Linked DNA regions of Homo sapiens: all the other regions are linked to region 4. Evidence: promoter capture Hi-C in 16 types of primary human blood cells and fetal thymus (Javierre and others, 2016). All regions are on one chromosome and are shown on one strand. The core of a region is centred on a gene start or on the middle of the fragment in contact, and the rest is flanking DNA. Distances in the headings are between cores, read along the strand shown. Region 1 has its middle 14 kb from the start of WFIKKN2. Region 2 overlaps SPAG9 (sperm associated antigen 9). Region 3 holds the start of TOB1 (transducer of ERBB2, 1). Region 4 holds the start of CACNA1G (calcium voltage-gated channel subunit alpha1 G).

Region 1 (4,999 bases), core at 721-3,220, 260 kb after region 4:
AGGAGAAAAAAGGTCACAACACAGATGTAGGGGGAGAGTGGTCAGGAAGGAGGATGTGGTCAACAGGTCACAAGCTGCAGAAAGGCAAGAAAACGAGGACTGGTTGTGTCATTTAGGGCCATGGTAGTCACTAGCAGCAGGTGACTTTAGCAGCAGGTGACTTTAGCAGCAGGCTTGTCAGCAAAGTAACGTGTGGGAGGCTGGATCACAGAGTTCAGGAGAATGAGTTCAGGGACTTGGGAGGTGAGAAAATGGAGCCAGGATGCGGACTGACTTGGAAGGTAGAAAGAGGCAGGGCTGTTCATGGAGGGGGAATACGGGGTGGAAGGAATGATGTAATGATCTGTTGAGGATAAGAGAGACATGAATGTGTATAAAGGTGGCAGGTATTTGGGAGACAGAAGGCGTAATTGATGGTATAAAGTTCCTAAGGAGGTGGAAAGAAAGGGAAGTGTTGGGATCCAACACATTGTTGGCAGCATTGACCTTAAATAGGAGGGACACCTCCTCAGTTGTAACAGGGTGGAAGGTGGAGAGGGTGTGGTGGGGGCAGGGTGGCTCATTTTACTTGGTGGGGGTCAAGAACATCCATCACTCAGAATTTACTCATGAATGCGGTGACTGGATTTTCAGAGGCACGTGGCCTTGATAGAGGCCTCTCTCTACGTCCTCTCTTTCTTTCACGTCTCCCTCGTGGCAGCCAGACCTGGAGGCACTGTCCCAGTGATGAGTTAGCTGGGGGAGTGTAGGGGCTGGCCACCCTTTCTTTCTGGCCCATCTTCTCCACCTGTGGCAGGACCCTTGGGGAAGGAAGCTGGAAGGTTGAAGCCTGGCCTAAGCCTAAGCCCCAGGGTTCATCAGGGTCTACTATACTAAGGGTCTCTGCATTGGGGGCAGGGCTCAGGCACCAAGATGACTCCCTCCCTGAGAAACCCCAGAGGGAAGGGGATACTCGGGCATTGAGCCCTCACTCCAGCACCCTAACACCTTCTACCCTCAGTGGTGGGGTCTTTGCCTTTCTGATCCTCATGTACCTGAGGCCACAGTGGGCAGGTTGTACCTGCCCTGTGCCCTGCAGGCACAAAGGGGCTGGCTCCCTTGCATGGGCCCCCTCTTTATCCTCCAATTCCCTCCTGTTTTCCTTCTGCTGACTCAGAGTTAGGAACAGAGCCTCTCCAAACTTTGGGAAGCACCTCTCCTGCCATCTACCATGGTGTCTGACTGCTGGACTTAGGGAGAGAAGCGCCTTCCCCCCGGCTCCTCACTGGCAGAAAGTCCTCCTGGTGGCTCCCGATGAATGAGCCTGGCCCATTTTCTGCCCATCCTCTGTACCCAGCAGTGCCCCCAATCATTCCACCATGAAATGTGCAGTAGCTTTCTATCCCTCAACTATTTCATGCTCACTTGGCCCAAATGCGGACAGTCATGGGTTCTTCTGCTTTTGATATGGAAACGCTGGGAAGGGAAGAGCGTGGTCCCTTTAAATGATACGGAACAGCGCAAGGGAAATGTTGGGTAGAGGAAGGTTGTGCTCCCTGGCGAGGGCTCCACCCTCGTGGACCTAGGTTAGGACAGGCACTCCTGCTTTTGCACCCAAATGTTGCATTTCCCAAGACCACCCTGTCCTGCCACACCCCCATCCTGTGCCTATAAAAACCCGAGACCCTAGCAGGGCAGAGACAGAAGCGGCTGGACATCTAGAGGAGTATATTGGCGGTGGGACACACAGGCGGCTGGATGTCAAGAGGAACGCACTGGCACCGGCATCGGCATGCCAGCAGGCCACTGACCAGCAGAAGGACGCAGAGTTTGGCTGGGGCAGTTGGAGGAGAGCCTGGGACACCAAGCGGCCCAACTCCAGAGGAAAACCATCTCCCTTCTGGCTCCCCCATCTGCTGAGAGCTACTTCCACTCAATAAAACCTTGCACTCATTCTCCAAGCCCACGTGTGATCTGATTCTTCTGGTACACCAAGGCAAGAAACCCTGGGATACAGAAAACCCTCTGTCCTAGTGACAAAGTAGTGGGTCTAATTGAGCTGACTAACCCAAGCTGCCTACAGATGGCAAAACTGAAAGAGCACCCTGTAACACACGCTCACTGGAGCTTCAGCTGTAAACATTCACCCCTTGACACTGCCGTGGGGTCAGAGCCCCACAGCCTGCCCATCTGTATGTTCCCCTAGAAGTTTGAGCAGCAGGGCACTGAAGAAGCGAGCCATACCCCCATCGCACACCATCTGAGGGGGACAAAGGAACCTTTCCCGTGAGACTTTTTTTTTTTTTTTTTTTGAGACGGAGTCTCACTCTGTCGCCCAGGCTGGAGTGCAGTGGCGCGATCTCGGCTCACTGCAACTCCTGCCTCCCAAGTTCAAGCGATTCTCCTGCCTCAGCCTCCTGAGTAGCTGGGACTACAGGTGCTCGCCACCACACCTGGCTAATTTTTGTATATTAGTAGAGACAGGGTTTCACCATATTGCCAGGCTGGTCTCAAACTCCTGACCTCATGATCCGCCCACCTTGGCCTCCCAAAATGCTGGGATTACAGGCGTGAGCCACCACGCCCAGCCTCCTGTGAGACTTTCAGTCTGCTTGCTGCAAGCTAGAGCAGTGACTAATATATATTTTCTGTGGTCTACCTCTTCACTTAGCTACATACTGTTTTGTTGTTTCCCTCAAATCGCCACTCCCAAGATCAACCCAAAACAGAGTTCAAAGTGCAAAGCAAGCCTTTCTGAAATAGAAGGCAAAAATCAAAGCCTCCTTCCTGGTGGTGGTGTAGGCATGGGTGAGAGATTCTACCCTCTGAGTCCCACTTGGACTTGTGTGGACTCCCTCCTCTCCAGCCACCCTGGCTGTCTTCCAGTTCCTCCAATGCTCTGTGCCACCTCCCATCTCACAGCCTTTGCATATACTGTCCCCTCTTTGTCCAGCTAACTATGATTTATCCTTCAGGTCTCAGTATTGATGTCACTTCTTCTAGAAGCCCTTACCTGACCTTGCTTTTAATGGGAAATAGGGCTTTTACCCTCTAATGCTGTTCCCCTAGAATCTGAGCTGGCCACATATTTGAAGTCTACTCCAGCCAACATTATGGTCTGGATCATAATCATGGTCTGTTTGCTTAGAGGCTACTGATGGTGCTTTCCTCTAAGCCCACACTCAAGACCCCTGTCATGAGCATTGCTAAGGGCACAGGCTTTGAGAAGAGCCCCAGATGTTCTATCTTATATCCTAAAGAGAATTCTGGCAGGATTCTTGTCTCTGCCTCCTGATTCGTCATGAGCAGTGAAGCTGAGCAGCTGAAACTGGTTTCCACCACAGTTCCCTCATGTCTATTCCATTTGTATATTGCTCTACATTTTATTTTTTGTTTTTAAATAAATTTAAAAGAATTTTATTTTTATTTTTATTTATTATTTTTTTTTGTAGAGACAAGGGTTTCGCTATGTTGCCCAGGCTGGTCTCAAACTCTGGGCTCAAGTGATCCTCCTGCCTTGACCTCTCAAAGTGTTGGGATTGCAGGCGTGAGCCACTGCATCCAGCCTGTATATTGCTCTGTAACAAACTATCCCAAAAGTTAGTGTATAAAACATTTTATTTGCTCATGATCCTATGGATCCGAAGTTTGGGCAGAGTTCAGCTGGGCTGTTCTTCTGCTCTATGTGATGTTAGGTTGGTGCAAAAGTAATTGTGGTTTTTGCCATTACTTTTAATGGCAAAAATATTAGGGATCATTCATTCAACTACCTTATAGGAATCATTCATTTAACTACATAGCTGGTAGCTGGGCTAGGCTGGAAGGTCCAAGAAAATGCATTCACTTGTCTGGTATCTTGGTGCCCCTTCATGGATCCACTAAGTATTTCTGTCTACGTGGCTAGCTGGGACTTCCTCATGACATGGTGGTCTTAGGGTAGCTGGACTTCTTACACAGTGCTGGCTTCTAAAGGAAACCTTCAAAGAGGGGCAAATGTGGAAGTCATGATCTTTAAAGCTTGACTTGGAAGTTATACTTCTGTTACATTCTGTTGGCCAAAGTCAATAGGACCAGCCAGGTTGAAGGAAAGCCCATCTCTCTACTGAGGGAGCGGCAAAGAATTTGTGGCCATCTTTAATCCACCAGGATGCCTCATTTGGCACAGTTGAACCAGAGATGAGAGCCTCAGGCTGCATTTGGAAGATCTTCCCATAGGAACACTCCCAGGGCTTATCCATAATTGCTTACTTTAAGGCTCGGAATTCTAACTTGAGTGCATGCCTTGTGGTCTGACCTATTCCTAGGCAAAGCAATGGCTTTCCCCTATCACCATCTTTATCTCATACATCTTATAACCCTTAAAACTGGTGTTCATGTGGAGAGTAAATAGTTTGGAGGCATCACCAAATACCAGCATGGGAGCATGAATCGGGCAACTCATGAAGACCTCAAACTCCTACTAAGGGCTTCCAACCACCAACATTGCTTCCACTCACAGTTTATGGGCCAGAACTAGTTACATGGCTTCAACCTAACTGCAAGGAAGGCTGGGAAATGTAGGGAGCACATGGGATGGTTGGAGTGCACAAATGGCCTCTGCCACATCTTCTCTTCCTGCCTTTGAATGTTGTCATGTGAGCACTTCCAGTGATGGCAGCCATCTTGTGACCATGAGGAGAAGGTCAAGAGAATTCCAGGAAGGCTGACCTGAAGCCCTAGTGTTGTTGAGCTGCTGAACCAGCCGTGGTACTGCCCATTCTTGGACCCCTTGACATGTGAGATACCTTGGGTGGGTGTTCCATTACTGTTTTTGCAGCCAAAAGAAACTCAATGGATGTAATGGTGAATGCTTTTAAGAAAATAAAACAGGGTGGAGTGTCATGTGACTTGGGGAGAGGGTGGCAAAAATCTAGGCGTGAGTGTGTGTGTAACAATGGACAAGGAAGTGAGGGAAGTCTTTGAATGAATAGAAAACACCATCATGGGAAGAGCTCTTTGGGCAGAAAGGACACATTACAAA
Region 2 (4,938 bases), core at 714-3,213, 410 kb after region 4:
GAGATGGAGTCTTGCTCTGTCGCCCAGGCTGGAGTGCAGTGGCACAATCTTGGCTCACTGCAACCTCCGCCTCCCGGGTTCAAGCGATTTACCTGCCTCAGCCTCCTGAGTGGCTGGGACTACAGGCACGTGCCACCATGCCCGGCTAACTTTTTCAGTAGAGACAGGGTTTCACCGTGTTAGCCAGGATGGTCTCAATCTCCTGACCTCATGATCTGCCTGCCTCGGCCTCCCAAAGTGCTGGGAATACAGGCATGAGCCACTGCACCTGGCCCAAATTACTTTATTTATTTATTTTTGAGACAGAGTTTCGCTCTTGTGGCCCAGGTTAGAGTGCAATGGCGCGATCTCGGCTCACTGCAACCTTCGCCTCTGGGGTTCAAACAATTCTCTTGCCTCAGCCTCCCAAGTAGTTGCGATTACAGGTGCCTGCCACAACGCCCGGCTAATTTTTGTATTTTAGTAGAGATGGGGTTTCACCAAGTTGGTCAGGCTGGTCTCAAACTCCTGACCTCAAGTGATCCACCCACCTAGGCCTCCCAAAGTGCTGGGATTACAGGCATGAGACACTGTGCCTGGTCTCTTAAAAATTTTTAATGAAGTCTTGCTATGTTTGCCCAGGCTGGTCTCAAACTCCTGGGCTCAAGTGATCCTCCTGCCTTGATTTCCAAGTTGTGGAATTACAGGTGTGAGCCACCATGCACAGCCTACCTGCTTCAAACTATTATAGTCTAAATCTTTTGATCTGAGAAGACAGTGGAAAAGGTCTCTCCCTTGAAAAGGAATGTGCTTATTTGTGTAAGAGACTGAGAAAAGTCTTCAACTTAAGCCCTATGAGTTTGCATAGTCATAATTAACATTTAAATTTATTTCAAATCTATGGCTTTCCTCTCATATTTAAGGAAAATACAGGTTATTTTTAATTTAGATTATGCAAACAAAATTACTAGTAAATGTGCTGTTTGTTCTAAAGCTTAAGTTCTAAGGTAGAATCCTTGAGTGTGAAATAATAGAAAGAGAGAAACCTTTAAATATTATTCACAACTATGAACAAATGAGCAATCTCTAAGCCAACCCTCTTAGCAAGATTTAATTGTGGGATATTTTTTTCCTTGTCAGAATCTGCTGTCCTTTGGTCAAACTACACAGACTGCGCCTCCAGGAGCTAGCTGGACAGCCATTAATGCGACACACTGTAACAAAATTAATGTATGTTGAAAGTGGATAGGATAGTCTGACGTATCCCCACAGGGATTCATTCATGCATTACTCAATTATACTTTGGAAGAAATCAAGCATGCCAGCAATGACTTCTGTTGGTAGACGAGTTAGTTCTGCCACAGAAGCAAGAGCACAGTGGTATTACTGATAAGGCCAACCAGAATGGTTTAATCTTTAGGGCCAACTGGCCTCGCAACAACCATGTTGCTAATTCCACTTTTAGATTTATACCCAACAAAAAATCCTTACACATGCACACAAGAAGGTCTGCTTCAGTATTGTTTTTAATAGTGAAAAAAGAAAGGGGAGAAGCCTAGAGGTCCATCAACAGAAGAATGAATAAAATGTAGCACTTTTATTCAGTTATAATACCAGTTAAATGAATAAACTAGATTTTTATGTATGAACATTGATAAATCTCAAAAAATGAGAAGCAAGTTGTAGAAGCATACATATAAAACACAACATTTAACATGTAAAGTCCAAAACCACAAAACAATCATACATTGTTTATAAACACATTCAAACATAGTAAAAATACAAAAACAGGGGCAAGAGGATTTGCATCGACTTCAAGATAGTGGTTACCAATGGAGAGGAAAAGGAGAGGAGAATGGGATTGGAGAGGGATACAAAGGAGATTTAAAGGAAACTGTGATATTTCATTTTTTTTTAAGCAAGAGAAACACTGTTACCAGCAATCCCATTTCTAGGAAGGAAATGACTATACAAATATATAAAATGTACAAATGAGGTTTCAGAAAGCTCATTATCACTGTTGTTAAGAATAACTGAATAATTGCTTAGGGTACCATATGCCAGCCCTTGCCCCATGTACATAAAATCATTTAATCTTTGGAAGACCCTTGGGAAAATAAGTATGATGAGTAATTTGACGTGTTAGCTCGATACCCAGATATTTGGTCAAACACCAGTCTAGATATCATTGTAAGTCTTTTTTAGATGTGATTAACATTTAAAACAACAGACTTTGAGTAAAGCAGATTACACGCCACAGTGTGGGTGGGCCTCATTTAACCAGTTGAAAGCCTTAGAAGAAAAAGACTGAGGGATCCAGAGGAAAGAGAAATGTTGCCTCCAGACTGCTTTCAGATTTGGACTGCAACATCCACTCTTCCCGGGGTCTCCAGCCTGCCAGCCTGCCCTGCAGATTTCAGACCTGCTAGTCCCCACAACTGTGTGACCCAATTTCTTAACAGTAACTCTCTCTTCATACGCACATACACATGCATCCTATTGGTTCTGTTTCTCTGAAGAACCCTGACTAATATACTACATCACACAGTTAGTTGGTGGGGGAAAGTCAGATCTGAACTTCGTCTAGCTCCTAAACTTGCCTCTTATGGGAAAAAAAAATTCAAAACCTGTGTCCTGCTTACAGATGGTCAGTGACATCACTTAAGTATTGTCAATGGATAATTTGTCATTTTTCACTGGACATCATCACTTCCATCTTTTTTCTGGGTGGTGCTTTATAGCTCCCAGTAGCATTTTCATTAATTTTCATAACAAATGAAGTAGGCAGAGCAGATATTAATCACATCCACCTAGGAGTGAGGAAATGAGTCTCTGAGGTTAAGTGCCTTGCTCGAGGTTAGTGGCAGAGACACAGGGGCCAGACCCCCAGGCCTCCTAGTTCACTGCTTTTTCCTATTAAGCTGCTAAAGGTACCAGAGTGCATTCTCTCTTCCTCCATGCAGCCTTGATGATAGAAGCTTCTTTCTAGTGATTTCTCTTATTAGGTCAAGACCATTTTTGGCAATCCACGATGATAAAATAATACTACTGCTTTTCAAAAGTAAGCAAGTCTCCTAAAGAAAAATCAACAAATTTATCTTTGGGGGTGGGAGAGATATTCCAAAGTAACTTCATTCAAGTATCCCTATAGCACCTTAGTCACACCTCCATTACAGAACTTCCTTCGTATATATTGAAATTACCTGCAATTCGAGTACTTAGCCTTAGACTATTAGGTAGTGGAACCAAGAGATGACAGAAGAGAGACAATTACATGGAACATCTCAACAGAATAATCTAACATACCTGGGACTGCCACAAAGAATTTCACAGCATCCCGGTGCCCATGGAAGCAAAGCTGTGCATGTGCCATTGAACAATAGGGTATAAATGTCCCTGGAGTCACTTTATCACTGTTTTCATCACCATATACACGGATTACACTTCCAGGACGATTTCCTGGTACACCTGAGGTTTTATTTGCTGCAACAGAAAAACCAAATACCAAATATTTTCCCCTAGAAAACAGTAATGAATGTAAGAGGTTACTGGTTAATCCTTATGATATTATCTAAAAGCTACAGCCAGTTGAGATAAAACAAGGATGGCAATGCCAATTCAAGACAAAGCTGGGAAAAAAAGAGATACAGCATGCTAGTTATTTTTAAGTACCTCAGTAAATGGAGTAGGGGATTTTGCCAGTCTAGCAATAAGTAAGCTTATTTTTTAAACACATCTATTCATTTAAAAAATAATTTTAGTTAAAAAAAAAACAAATTTGAATCTTAGTTGTTTCTTGTTTTGTTTTTAATGCACATGTTAGAAAACTAACCATTATACAGTTTAAAGTAAATGGGTATATTTGCAAATAAAGTCTTTCTTTATAGTTTATCTTCTGATTTTTCTCCCTCACAGTAAGAATATTTCCCTTGAGGGGGTTGGTAAAAAGTTGTGCTTACAAGAATCCAGCCACTACAATAGAGCAGCTTTTATTGATACCAGACTGATGGTGTGCTGCGTACTGTAAAAGACCAGACTCACAAAACATCCCCATTCCATGGGCAAGTAAGTAAATGAAAGAAATATGATCGGTAACAAGAGTAAACGATGTAAATTAATGACAGCTTTAAGAGATGTTTCATGTTTATACTGGAAGGAAAACAAAGTCTGAAAGAAAGTTCAGCTGCAACAAAAGATGATAAATAGACTAAGCTGCTGAGCAGTTTGGTGGCCATGTAACAAACATTAAAAAAAAAAAAAAGACACCTGCTGCGATGCAGTGACTGCAAGTGGATAACATTTAGGAACATTCAAGAGGGTATTCTAGAGGAGTGGTAACAGCCTTACAGTGGCTATTAGAAGCCAGGAAGAAGAGTTTGGTTCAGAATCTGCACTTACCCCTCAGCCCCAGTAAACGTCCCTGGTGGAGGATTACGGCTAAAGTGAGAAAGGAGGAAAGGGGACATGGAGAGGTGCATGACAGGGAGGAGAGAATTACTGTGAGCCACCACTCTCAGCGTCTTCTATCTGGTAAACCTGGTGCTCAAAGCCCCTAACGAAAATAACAAGATCCCACTTGGCATAATACCAAGTAATACATAAAGTTCTTCCCAAGGCTTCTATTAGAATCTCTGCTGAAAAAGGAAAATCTGATTTATGGTGTTTTTTTTTTAAATAATAAAGCAATTTTAGTGAATCTGAATCAAAACACTAAGAACTCAATGTGCAGCATTTCCTAAATGCTAAAATTTCTCCTTTATTTCTCTGTGTGTGTGTGTTTTAAAAAACAAATCCTGTTCCAATAACTATGCTAAAATGAAGCTCTTACAAATAACTGAAATGAACTCTAGGGGATCCTGGAATCTCTTAGGATATAAGGAGAGGTCTAAATATGATTTATAAGTAACTGCAGAAAAGACAGGTGGGATTGAAACCTTGCTTTCTTTTAAAGGCTTCCGA
Region 3 (5,288 bases), core at 569-3,068, 300 kb after region 4:
GCAGGTTGGGTACCCACTTGCAAAAAATTAAATACATAAGCGTTTTTGCTGGGAAAATGAAAATGCTAACATCTAACCATCTGTCCAGCCGTGAATAGATTTTGACCATAAGTTCTCTAGCTATATGCAATAGCTAAACTTTAAAGATTAGTAAAGTGATGTAAATTTTTCTAAGTTCAGTCAGCCGTTTTGTCCAAGCAAGTTTCCTCAGCAAAAACAGAAAACTGATCCAATGCTCTCTCCATATAAATTTCAAATAAATCATCTCAGATTACACGAAGGAATTTCATCTTATCACCTGACTCCTCCATGTCAGCATGACATTTTGAAACTTGCTGTATAGCTAACCTTACCATACCATCTCTATAATGGGGTAGACAAATGTGGACTGAAGAGGGCTGTTAAAAAATAAAGTTGTACCAAGCACTGGTCAGGCTATAGTTTTGATAGCATTTTTTATGTGGCAAACCACGATCTGGTACATCAGTAGAGCAACTGCTTTCCATTATTCCTTCGTGACTCAATGAGTCAGGCCTTTTTCCATCATTAGCATTTACAACATAATAACTCCAGAGGTCGATCTTCAGAAAACACTTAAAAACAAAGACAATAGGCATTTTTAATTTTAAAGAATTTTAATACAAACTTAATATAAACTATTTCAGTCCCTCTTAACATGTAAGACACTGACTCAAAATACTTTTATACCGTTTTTTTCAAGTATTGCACAATATAGGTACAAAATTAATATTTACGATTACATTTTTCTTCCATAATATATAGCAAAAATCTTTAAACTTTTAACAGAAAATACATTTTTTTGAAAAAGCAAGTATTCGTACATTTTAATTCCACCACTAAAGGAATATCCTGTACACAATTTTTAGAATAGTTGATGTCTTTAAGATGGATATTTTACAATTTCAGTAAAAAAAATACAACATGAAGCTGCTGCTGTCACAGATCACTGTAGTAAAAAGATATAAATGCAATACCATGTCGTAGAAACAATATATATATATCCTCTGATATTTTACAAACTTTGTACTAAATTAAATTATACAATTAGAAAAGACCAATAAACCCACTTATTAGTGCCAATTTTTATAAAAAAAAATCAGCCATGTCCTTGCTATATCTTAAATACTGTAAGAGGCCATATCTGAGAGTATACTTTAAAATATACAGTCAGTATAAAATAACTTTGTGCTTGGTTGGCAAATGAAAAATGATGCATGTTTTATTATTATTTTTTTAACCAAGCTTGAATGTATCCTTACTATAAGCTTAAAAAAAAAAATTCTCAAGGAGGTGAAAAAAAAAATCCCCCTTGGGCCCGTGCATTTTAACTTGTACGATACATTTTCTTTTTTTTAGTTAGCCATAACAGGCTGGAATTGCTGGTTAGAATACTGCATGTTATTTAAGCTAAAATTCAAGCCATCTACAAAAGATTTCTCATTGAGGCCTCCATAGGCTGCAAACACATCAAAGGCATTACTGTACTGGAGAGGACTGAGGTTAAGGGGGCTGTCACCTGGGAACATTCCATTGGTACTACTACCTTGACCCTGCATATTAGGAAAAATAAATTCCTTGGCATTAGGAGAAAGAGCAGAGGTTTTCTGCTGTTGTTGCTGCTGTGGTGGTGGTGGTGGCGGTGGCGGCTGGGCTGGCTGCTGCTGTTGCTGTGGCTGCTGCTGGCTACCCAAGCCAAGCCCATACAGAGAGTGCATTGAGGAAGAGATGGCTTTCTGCTTCAAGAGGTCATTCACATTCAAGCCGAGGTTGATGGGAGAAGTACGTGCAACCTTGTTGCTACGGCCACTATTCTTCATTTTGGTAGAGCCGAACTTGGTGGCAGCAAAAGTGGCAGTGGTAAAGGTTAAAGGCTGAGTGGACCGGGGCATGAAGGTAGGGCTTACAGCAGCAGAGTGACCAAAAGGAGGCGATGGAGAGCTGGACACTGATGAGGCTGGGTCACTTATGGGCATAAAAACCTGGGCCTCTGGGTTAAAGCTGTTTTTGATCTCCTTATCCAACTCACATCCATTTTCATTATTATCATCCACGTAAAGCACCTTCACTGGTCCCTTTTCACCAATTTGGTAAGAAACCTCAAATGGGTCGATCCAAACACTAAGATCCTGTGGCAGATTGCCACGAACATCATCAATGTCCAAACCACTCTCTTTGGATGCTTGTTCAATCACTGGGTCCACTTTCTCCCCTATGTGTATACATCTAAACCCCGATCCTTTGTATGGCTTTTCAGGATACCAGTGCCCTTCATATTTCTTCTTAAGAAGTCTTTCAAGTTCTTCACCAAAAATGTTGACACGTCTCCTGGGAAGCTTATTGTACAAATACGAAATAATAAAATTTAGTGCTACTTGGATTTCAAGCTGCATAGCTGCTACGCCACAAAATTAGGTTTCAACTCCCCCACCAAAAAAAAAAAAAAAAAAAAAAGATGTTCAGTTTGTGGCAGAGAAACAAATTTTCATTCAAAGTGCTGGTATTAGTAGATTATCCTTCACCTTGAGTGATCTTGTTCCTTAAAACAAAAGCAAACATATCCAAATAAGATAAATGTAATATAAGTCCCATGACCTTCCCCCCTCCAAAGTAATTTCACCTTTCAAAATGTCTAAGATCCTGTGTTAGTCTGCTAAGGATAAAAAGAAAAAGAAAATGTCTACTAGGACAGAAAGCCTGAAAACTGTTACTAGCACAAAATAAACATAAAATAGAAAATCGTTTATTAAAGTTTAAAATGACACAGGAAAATGTAGATTTACAAATGAAATAATGCTTTTAAAAACCTGTTTCTGAATAGAGTTCTAAGAAGAAAAATCTCTAGAACATGCATTCTTCTCTCCTCAGTTCTCACAAGAATATTTATTGTACTCAGCATCCTCCCCCCACCCCCATATATATAGATGCCACTTTTAGGTAGTAATTTTTATTGTTATTCACCAACTTAGAAGTGAATCCATGTTTTAGTTTACTTTGGATATATACTGTTTAAATCTGCTCTGTCACTGACATTTAAAAATTTGGTTACGTTAGGAAGATCATTTTAATTTCCATAGTACATGATGCTAAAATTAAAGACACTGAGTACTAAATGAACTTCATCCTAGTAAATAATTATGAACCAAATTATTCTATATAGTTTCGGCCTTAAGTATACTAAGAGCATACAATATAATAAAATCCAGCTTCTCTGGGCCTTTTGTTTTCAATGTGTATTTTTCTAAATCTGAAAATACCTATTCGGCAGCAAGTATAACAAAAGCAAAGACACAAATTAAAACTATTGATTATTCTGTTTAAGGCCAGGGTTTCTGAGTTTTAGTCTGATTTTAAAAAACCTCCGTCTGTCCCTCTCTCCCTCCCTCCCTCTCACGGTAACAGCCGGAGAGGCAAGTATGGTAAGGTCGACCTTTAAACGTTTGCTGGATCAGCACTGGGTGGGGATAAGAAAAGATCAAGGGCAAACAGAAGATATTTGCGAAAGGGATCTATTTGCACACTGAAGTTGATTTAAAAGTACGTTTAAAAATCAAGTTGGTCTTAATTCGTCTGTTCTATTTTCCATATTCGTGGTGACAAAGGGAAAAAGAATCTCTGGCTGCCCCCAAACTACAAACACTTTCCAAGTCAAAAGCCTGAGTGCCGGCAGAGGCAGCTGATTAAGCCCAATTGCTTGAAGGTGCAGCCGAGCGAAATTCAGGCTCGGTGGAAGGTAGTTACAAAGCAACGCCTTAAGACAGGCAGGAGTGTGAAGAATTACATAAACAGCCAGTTAGATCTCATTAGATTTCTGCTCACAGCCCTCGGAGCCCAAGCGCTACAGCAGCAGCAACAGCAAGAGGAGGTGGAGGTGGAGGAGGAAGAGAGTACGAGCCTCCTCGGAGAAGGAGGAGGAAGGCCCGGGAAATGGAAGAGCAACCTCTCCCGGCTGGGCACCCAGCACCGAGCAGGTCGGGGCGCCGGGTCAGCCGCTCCCCTCCCCCGCCGTAACCCGACCCGCTGCTCCCCGCCCCGTGGCCCCCGCCCCGGGCTCCTGGGAGCCGGCCAGAGCCTGGGGGAGCACCGGTTCCTCGGCACCATTTTCAGCCTCGCGGCCACCGGCCCCTCGAACCCCAGCGTTCCACCGCGAGCTCGTCGCTCCTCCGGGCACCCCAACCCCCCAATTCCCGTCAGCTCGCCCCGGGCCGCCCGTCCCCGGCCAACTGCCCAGGACGAGCCCGACGCGCCGGCGGCCCCTCGGAGCCGCTCCCCTCGGGTCCTGGCGCTGCCCCCTCGGCGCCCAGGGCCGCGACCCCGCCGTCCCCGAGCTCCCGAGGGCCCAGGGCTCGACGCCGCTGCAGCCCCTCCTCCGCCGCCTGGGCCCGGGGCTCCCGTCTCCTCGCCGACCCCGCCCGGCGCCCCGAGATACTTACGGGCTGCTTCGGGGCGGCTTGGACCACAGACCCGCGGCTGGGCGGGGAGCAGCGCGGCAGGGCGGGGGCGCGGGAGGGTCGGGAGCGGCGAGCTCGCCGAGTGCAAGACGTTGCCGCTGCGGGGCTGAGGACAGAGGACAGAGGCCTCGGGCAGGCCTTGGGAGATCGCCGTTAGTGGCTCGGGGTGGCGGGCACGGGGGTCAGACGAGCGCGCTCACTTCTCCACACAGCCCGGTGCCCGGCCCAGCGTCCCCGTAGTGCGCCCGCTACACGCCGGGCCAGAGCTTCGCTCCTTCTGCCGCGGCGCGCGCCCCGCCTCTCGTTTTATGGCCTCCTCCCCGCCCCCATCCCCTCCGTCGGGGTGCGCGCGCCCGCTCCGCGTCACACAGCTCCGGCGGCGCAGCCATTCCCCGCGCTCCCCGCCCGGCACCCCGGTCCCCCGCCGGCCGGCTCCGCCCCTGCCCTGCCCCCCGACGCCATTGGCCAAGTCCCGCCTGCCCCTGTCCGGACGCGCGGCGGACGCAGGGGTGGGGAAGCCGCACCCTCCGGGCTCCAGGAGGGCCAATGAACCGACGATCGGAGCACTGGGGACGGAATGAAGAGAACGTCTGGAAAGGGACTGTGGGGGCAGACGTGCCAATGAGAGAGAAAGGGGTGGGGTAGGGCGGCTGACGCCCGGTTTAGGCGGAGAGCGCCGGGCAGAGGGGGAGGGGGACGAAGCTGGTGGCGAAGCGGCTCAGGAGAACCGGGGCTGGAGGAGCGGCAAGAGTACCCAGAAAGTGCCCTCTCCGCGGGGGTCTGCGGCCAAGGAGGATCCTGCTCGTGGAATAGCTACCA
Region 4 (5,036 bases), core at 2,537-5,036:
CCAGCCCATCTGGAGGGGATTAGTGCTCCGGCCAACAAGGTCAGCTGGCCCCTTCCTAGCTGGAGCCTACTCAACCTTGCCAGGAAGTCAGAGAGCTGGACAAGTGGAGCCCAGCCTGGGGAGGTGGAAGAGAGGGAGGATGGAGCATGGTGAAGCACAGGTGGCCTTTTTGGCAGCCCCAGCCCTGGCTTTGGAACAGTCTGGGCAGTGTGCCAACCCCTCTTGCCACTGTCGTCCCATTGACCCTCATGAATGAGTTGCGAAGGCAGTTACCTTCAGCCTCCTATGGATAAATATTCGAGGCCCAGAGAGGGTAAGAGACCTGCCTGCGACCCCTCAGCACTTCTGTTTCTCTCTGGGGTCTTGAGGGTACAATAAAGACCCCTAAGGCTTCCTCTTCTCGCAGGAGGTCCAGGCGCAGCTGTGGGGGAGGGTGCCCTTGGTGTCTTCTGTCCCTGCAGCCAGTCTGCTTTCTACTCGGCAGCTCCTCTCTCCCTCCTGGGATGAGATGTGCACGCGATGATGGGATTCTGTAAATGGGTTGGGAAGAAGGAGTTACCTCCTTAAAGGGTTAGTTCTCCCAGGAGTGCTCGAATTTCTAAAGGGGGCAGGGTCCCACATAAATCTCACTCAGAAGCAGGATTATAAGAGTTCCTGCAGCATCCCTTCCCCTTTGCTGGTCCCTCTTGAGTGTGCACCCTGTTCTACCAGCGGAACACCTGCGGGCCAGGGTCACTGGAGACAGGGCCATACCGTCTGGGCAGTCACTTAAGTAACTTCATCATTCTGAGCACCCCCCTTCCTTATCTGAAAGGTGGGGGGCCATCCACCCAGCTCTCAGGGCTGTTAAGGTGACTAAATGGGATAATGGTTGTATCATCCCTGAGCAAAGGGTATCACAGATGGGAAGATTATCTTAGCTCCGCAGGGAGCCAGATGGGCTGTGAGGGAGGGGTAAAGGCAGGGCTGGAGGGGGCTGGAGGGGCTGGCTGAGCAGGGTATATATGGGGGGGGTTCTTCCTCAAACCCAGAAAAACTCTTAGTTAGGCTTAGTGTCTTTGTTGAGAAACTGAGGCCCAAAGAAAGGAATTTCTTGTCCCTTTGTTTCCCTTTCCCTGCCTGAGGTCATTCATTCACCTAACAACTTTGTGCCCGACACTAGACAAGGCCCTAGTGAGCAAAATGAACATAGCCCCTCTGGGAACACAGAGCCTAGATAGGGAGATGATCATTTCATTACTGCAAACACAAACATATAATCCCAGCCTGGGCTAAGTGCTGTGAAGTTCCAGACTTGTGTCTGGCTCGGTGCTGTATCCTAAGCACCTTGGCACTTAAGTGGCATTGAAATACTTGCTGGAAAGAAGGCCACTCTGAGGAGGTGATGTCAGAGCTGAGGCTTGGAGGGCTGGAGTTAAATAAAGATGGTTTCAGGTCTTCTTTGCCTTCCCTGTAGGTTCTGCCTCTGCCTCCTCTCTGGCACTCAGGCTAAGGGTAAGCATCTCCGACTGGCCATCAGCCCCAACATGCCGAGTACAGGGATCAGATCCTGTCTTGCGTGGCCGGTCTCCCCTAGGTCCTGAACCCAGGGAAGTGCATGTGGATCTCAATTTATCTAGATGGTGCGTTTGTGCCTGCCCTCCTTTCGGGCATGTTCTAGAACAGAGTTCAGTCCAGAGCCCAGGGGTGGCCGGGATGATGGATGAGGGTGTGGGGCCTGCTGACCACCAGGGGACCTGATCATTGGGCTGGGCCAGCCTCTCTGTCCTCATTTTCCCCTCTGCAAAGAAGGGGTGTTGGGCGTCCCTACTTCTCGCGCCAGCCCCGGGGCCTCTATCCTGGCGGGAAGGGCAGGCCGACCCGGCAGACTGCGGCCTCTCGGGAGGGAAGAAGGTGTCAGACGCGCGGAGCAACCATAAATAGCCCCCCTTTCCCAGAAGACGGCACGGGGTTCAAGACTCAGGCGCCGCATACTCAGAATGAGAGCAGAGACTCCCGCCAGGAAAAAAAGGCACTTAGGGGATCTGCTCATTAGCATGAAATGCAAATGAGCCCGCCCGGCCTCATTTACACAACTCTGTGCATGGATTCGGCGAAAGGGCAACCAGGGAGACGACGGCGCAGCAGCCACTCTGCCACTTCCCCCATCCCCTCCCCCCATCGGCCGGGGCGGGAACTGAGACGACCCCAACCCTCTGCGGTGGCGGGAGGTGCGCGGGGGCTGCGTGGGTGGTGCAGCCTTAGGAGAGTGAACAACGCCCAGGGGTGATGGCCTCAGCAAAGTGAGGGGTGGTGATGGAGGTCATCCGACCCATCCCGCCGCCTCTCCGCAGTGGCGCAAGCGCCCCAAAATCTCCGGAGAGGGAACTGACTGACCCACTAGGTTCCGCCGTGTCTACCTCTCGCAGATGTTGGGGAAGTGCTTCCCGGCGTCTAATCCTCGCTGTTCCCCCCTCCACCGGCGCCCAGCACACCCGCGGCGCTCCGCTCCCGGGTACCCACAGCTTTCTGGAGTGGCGCCGGCGGCAGGAGAGAGCTAGAGCCGACTGAGCCCCAGAACTCGGGGAGGTAGGCGGGGCAAGGGCCGGGGTCTGCGCGTGCGTGTGCACGCGTGGAAAGCACAAACCCACGAGGGCCCGCTGCCGGTAGGGTTAAGGTGAGTGAGTGAAGGCGGCAGACCCGCGAAGTTCCAGTTCCGCGGACACTCTTTCCCTAAGCCACATAGGGACTTAAGAGAAACTGAGGCACGAAGTTGGGGGGTGGCGGTGGTGGGGACTTTGAAGGTCGAGTCGATAAAGCCCAGCTCTGTGCTTCCGCCCCCTCCCACACACTCGAGACCCCCACAGGTTCCTTCTTAGGGGTCCTCGCTCTGCTCCGCAGCCCCTCCTGGGGATCCGGGCTCTGCGGTCCAGCGCGACCTGCCTGGGGCCACGTGTTCAAGCACGAAGCCCCTGCGTGGAGTCCACGCCCTTCAAAAGGTCCCTAGGGGCAAAGGGATGAAGCCCAGGAGCGTCAATGTGAGGTCAGGTCCAGCGGGTTAGGGTTACGAGGTCAGGGTCGAAGTCTCAGAATTGACTCGGGAGTATGACCAATAAGCCCAAGAGATTTGTGGAGGCCACGCCCAGACCATGCCTACCCTAGCCTTTCTCGAGCTCCGCCCGTTTCTCCAAGACTGGGCCCCTCCAGCCTGAAGCCCCACCCCCAGGACATCCAGCTCCGCTCCTTCCCTCCCCCAGTCCCGCAGCCAAGCTCAACTCCAGGGTGGGAGATTAACCAGGTGGAGACCTGGGATTTCGCTCTGGGACCCCCTGGTGACAACCCTCACCCCCGTGCCGCCTGTCTCCTTTCTTCCCCAGGCCCGCCCAGAGCTGAGCTCCGTCCTCCGGCTGCTGCCCAAATCAGGGGTCGTGGACAAAGGATGCCTGGGGCCTGCGGCCCTACGCCAGGACCCCGCGCCGAATACTCTGATTCTTCGGGCTCCCTCCAAGGGAGTCCCAAAGACCCCAATGGCCAATAGGAAAGTGGGTTCGGTCTGGGCAGCAGTCTGATTGGCTCCAGCCTTCGGGAGCGGACCCAGGGGCAAGGGGAGGGGAGAGGGGCGGTCCTGGGTTTTGGGGTGGGAATCGGATTCCAGCTGTGGTTCTCTCCCTGCGCTCCCGCCCGCACTGCCACGGCGGACGGCCAATGGGCGCGCGGCTCGGGGCCGGCGGCGTCCGGCGATTGGCTGCGGGGCTGTCTGGGGGCGGGGCCGAGGCTTGAAGTTGAAGTGAGGGATCCAGCTGTGGTGTGCGCGGGGCTCCTCGCCGCCGCTTTCGCTCGCTCGCTCCGCGTCTCGGCCGGAGGAGGAGGCTGTGGCGCCGGCGACAGCTACGGCAGCGGCAGCCACCGCGGCGGCTGCGGCGGCGGCATCTCCGCCTCCACTCCCGCCCGGGACTGCCCCCCACTGTCTCCCCGCCCCTCCCGGACAGTGAGCCCGCGGCGGGGCGGGGGAAGGAGCCGCCCCCACCCCCTCCAAGCCCACCCCTAAAGAGATCCCTCCTCCCCTCCCCCGCCGCCTGGCGCGGAGCCGGGACGATGCTGACCCCTTAGATCCGGCTCCAGCTGCGCCGCGGGAAGAGGGGGCGCCCCTCCCCGGACCCCCGCCCTCCGCCGCTGCCCCCCTTTTCGTTCGCCCTCTCGGGGCGGCTTCGCCGAAGGTAGCGCCGAATCCGGCAACCGGAGCCTGGGCGCGAAGCGAAGAAGCCGGAACAAAGTGAGGGGGAGCCGGCCGGCTGGCCCGGGAAGCCCCAGGGGCGCAGGGGAAGCGGGACTCGCGCCGGGCGGGGTTTCCCTGCGCCCCGGCGCCCCGCGGGCAGCATGCCCCTGCGGGCAGGGGGAGCTGGGCTGAACTGGCCCTCCCGGGGGCTCAGCTTGCGCCCTAGAGCCCACCAGATGTGCCCCCGCCGGGGCCCCCGGGTTGCGTGAGGACACCTCCTCTGAGGGGCGCCGCTTGCCCCTCTCCGGATCGCCCGGGGCCCCGGCTGGCCAGAGGATGGACGAGGAGGAGGATGGAGCGGGCGCCGAGGAGTCGGGACAGCCCCGGAGCTTCATGCGGCTCAACGACCTGTCGGGGGCCGGGGGCCGGCCGGGGCCGGGGTCAGCAGAAAAGGACCCGGGCAGCGCGGACTCCGAGGCGGAGGGGCTGCCGTACCCGGCGCTGGCCCCGGTGGTTTTCTTCTACTTGAGCCAGGACAGCCGCCCGCGGAGCTGGTGTCTCCGCACGGTCTGTAACCCATATCCTTCGGGGCACGACGGCCAGGCGCGGGGTCAGAAGGGGGACGGGCCGCACCGCCGGGGGTCGGGGGGGAAGAAGACCCACCGCCAGGTGAGTCGAAGTGAGCCCGGAGGGTAGGCGGATGGGGGGGGGGCTGCCAGGGAGGGGAGGGGGCACCAGAGTGGGAGCGGAGACGCGAGCAGGTCTCGTCGGTAACCCGGGCTTACCCCACCTGCGTACACACACCTCAGTCTTCCTGGGTTGGGGGGGTGGGGATCCAGGC

Evidence for each region. The method cuts DNA at HindIII sites, captures the fragments that hold promoters and counts their contacts. A CHiCAGO score of 5 or more calls a contact.
Region 1: a contact is called between a fragment that was not itself captured here and the fragment with the promoter of CACNA1G in region 4, in 6 of 17 cell types (M1 macrophages, M0 macrophages, non-activated CD4 T cells and 3 more). The highest score is 7.5, in M1 macrophages.
Region 2: a fragment that was not itself captured here is called in contact with the fragment with the promoter of CACNA1G in region 4 in 4 of 17 cell types (naive B cells, total B cells, naive CD8 T cells and 1 more); the score reaches 7.9 in naive B cells.
Region 3: a fragment that was not itself captured here is called in contact with the fragment with the promoter of CACNA1G in region 4 in 1 of 17 cell types (total CD4 T cells); the score reaches 5.3 in total CD4 T cells.

Annotation. Positions count from the first base shown.
Region 1 is chr17:50,819,106-50,824,104 of GRCh38, forward strand. No RefSeq gene overlaps it. Among named protein-coding and RNA genes, the nearest start is that of WFIKKN2, 14 kb to the right of the region's middle. RefSeq lists an enhancer at 185-244. The HindIII fragment of the contact is 4,047 bases long and covers 1-3,994 here.
Region 2 is chr17:50,971,486-50,976,423 of GRCh38, forward strand. SPAG9 (sperm associated antigen 9) reads right to left here. Exons shown (of 30, transcript NM_001130528.3): 28 at 3,286-3,462. Among named protein-coding and RNA genes, the nearest start is that of TOB1-AS1, 110 kb to the left of the region's middle. The HindIII fragment of the contact is 1,984 bases long and covers 972-2,955 here.
Region 3 is chr17:50,861,607-50,866,894 of GRCh38, forward strand. TOB1 (transducer of ERBB2, 1) reads right to left here and starts at 4,748. Exons shown (of 2, transcript NM_005749.4): 1 at 4,452-4,748; 2 at 617-2,557. The coding sequence starts at 2,411. The coding sequence ends at 1,374. It overlaps TOB1-AS1 (TOB1 antisense RNA 1), which reads left to right and starts at 5,073. Exons shown (of 2, transcript NR_038458.1): 1 at 5,073-5,288. RefSeq lists an enhancer at 3,364-3,413 and silencers at 3,954-4,563, 4,574-5,083. The HindIII fragment of the contact is 1,068 bases long and covers 1,285-2,352 here.
Region 4 is chr17:50,556,929-50,561,964 of GRCh38, forward strand. It overlaps CACNA1G (calcium voltage-gated channel subunit alpha1 G), which reads left to right and starts at 3,787. Exons shown (of 38, transcript NM_018896.5): 1 at 3,787-4,773. The coding sequence starts at 4,532. CACNA1G-AS1 (CACNA1G antisense RNA 1) reads right to left here. Exons shown (of 2, transcript NR_038439.1): 1 at 5,000-5,036; 2 at 1-530. RefSeq lists enhancers at 3,337-3,386, 4,746-5,036 and a silencer at 3,607-3,986. The HindIII fragment of the contact is 9,044 bases long and covers 1-5,036 here.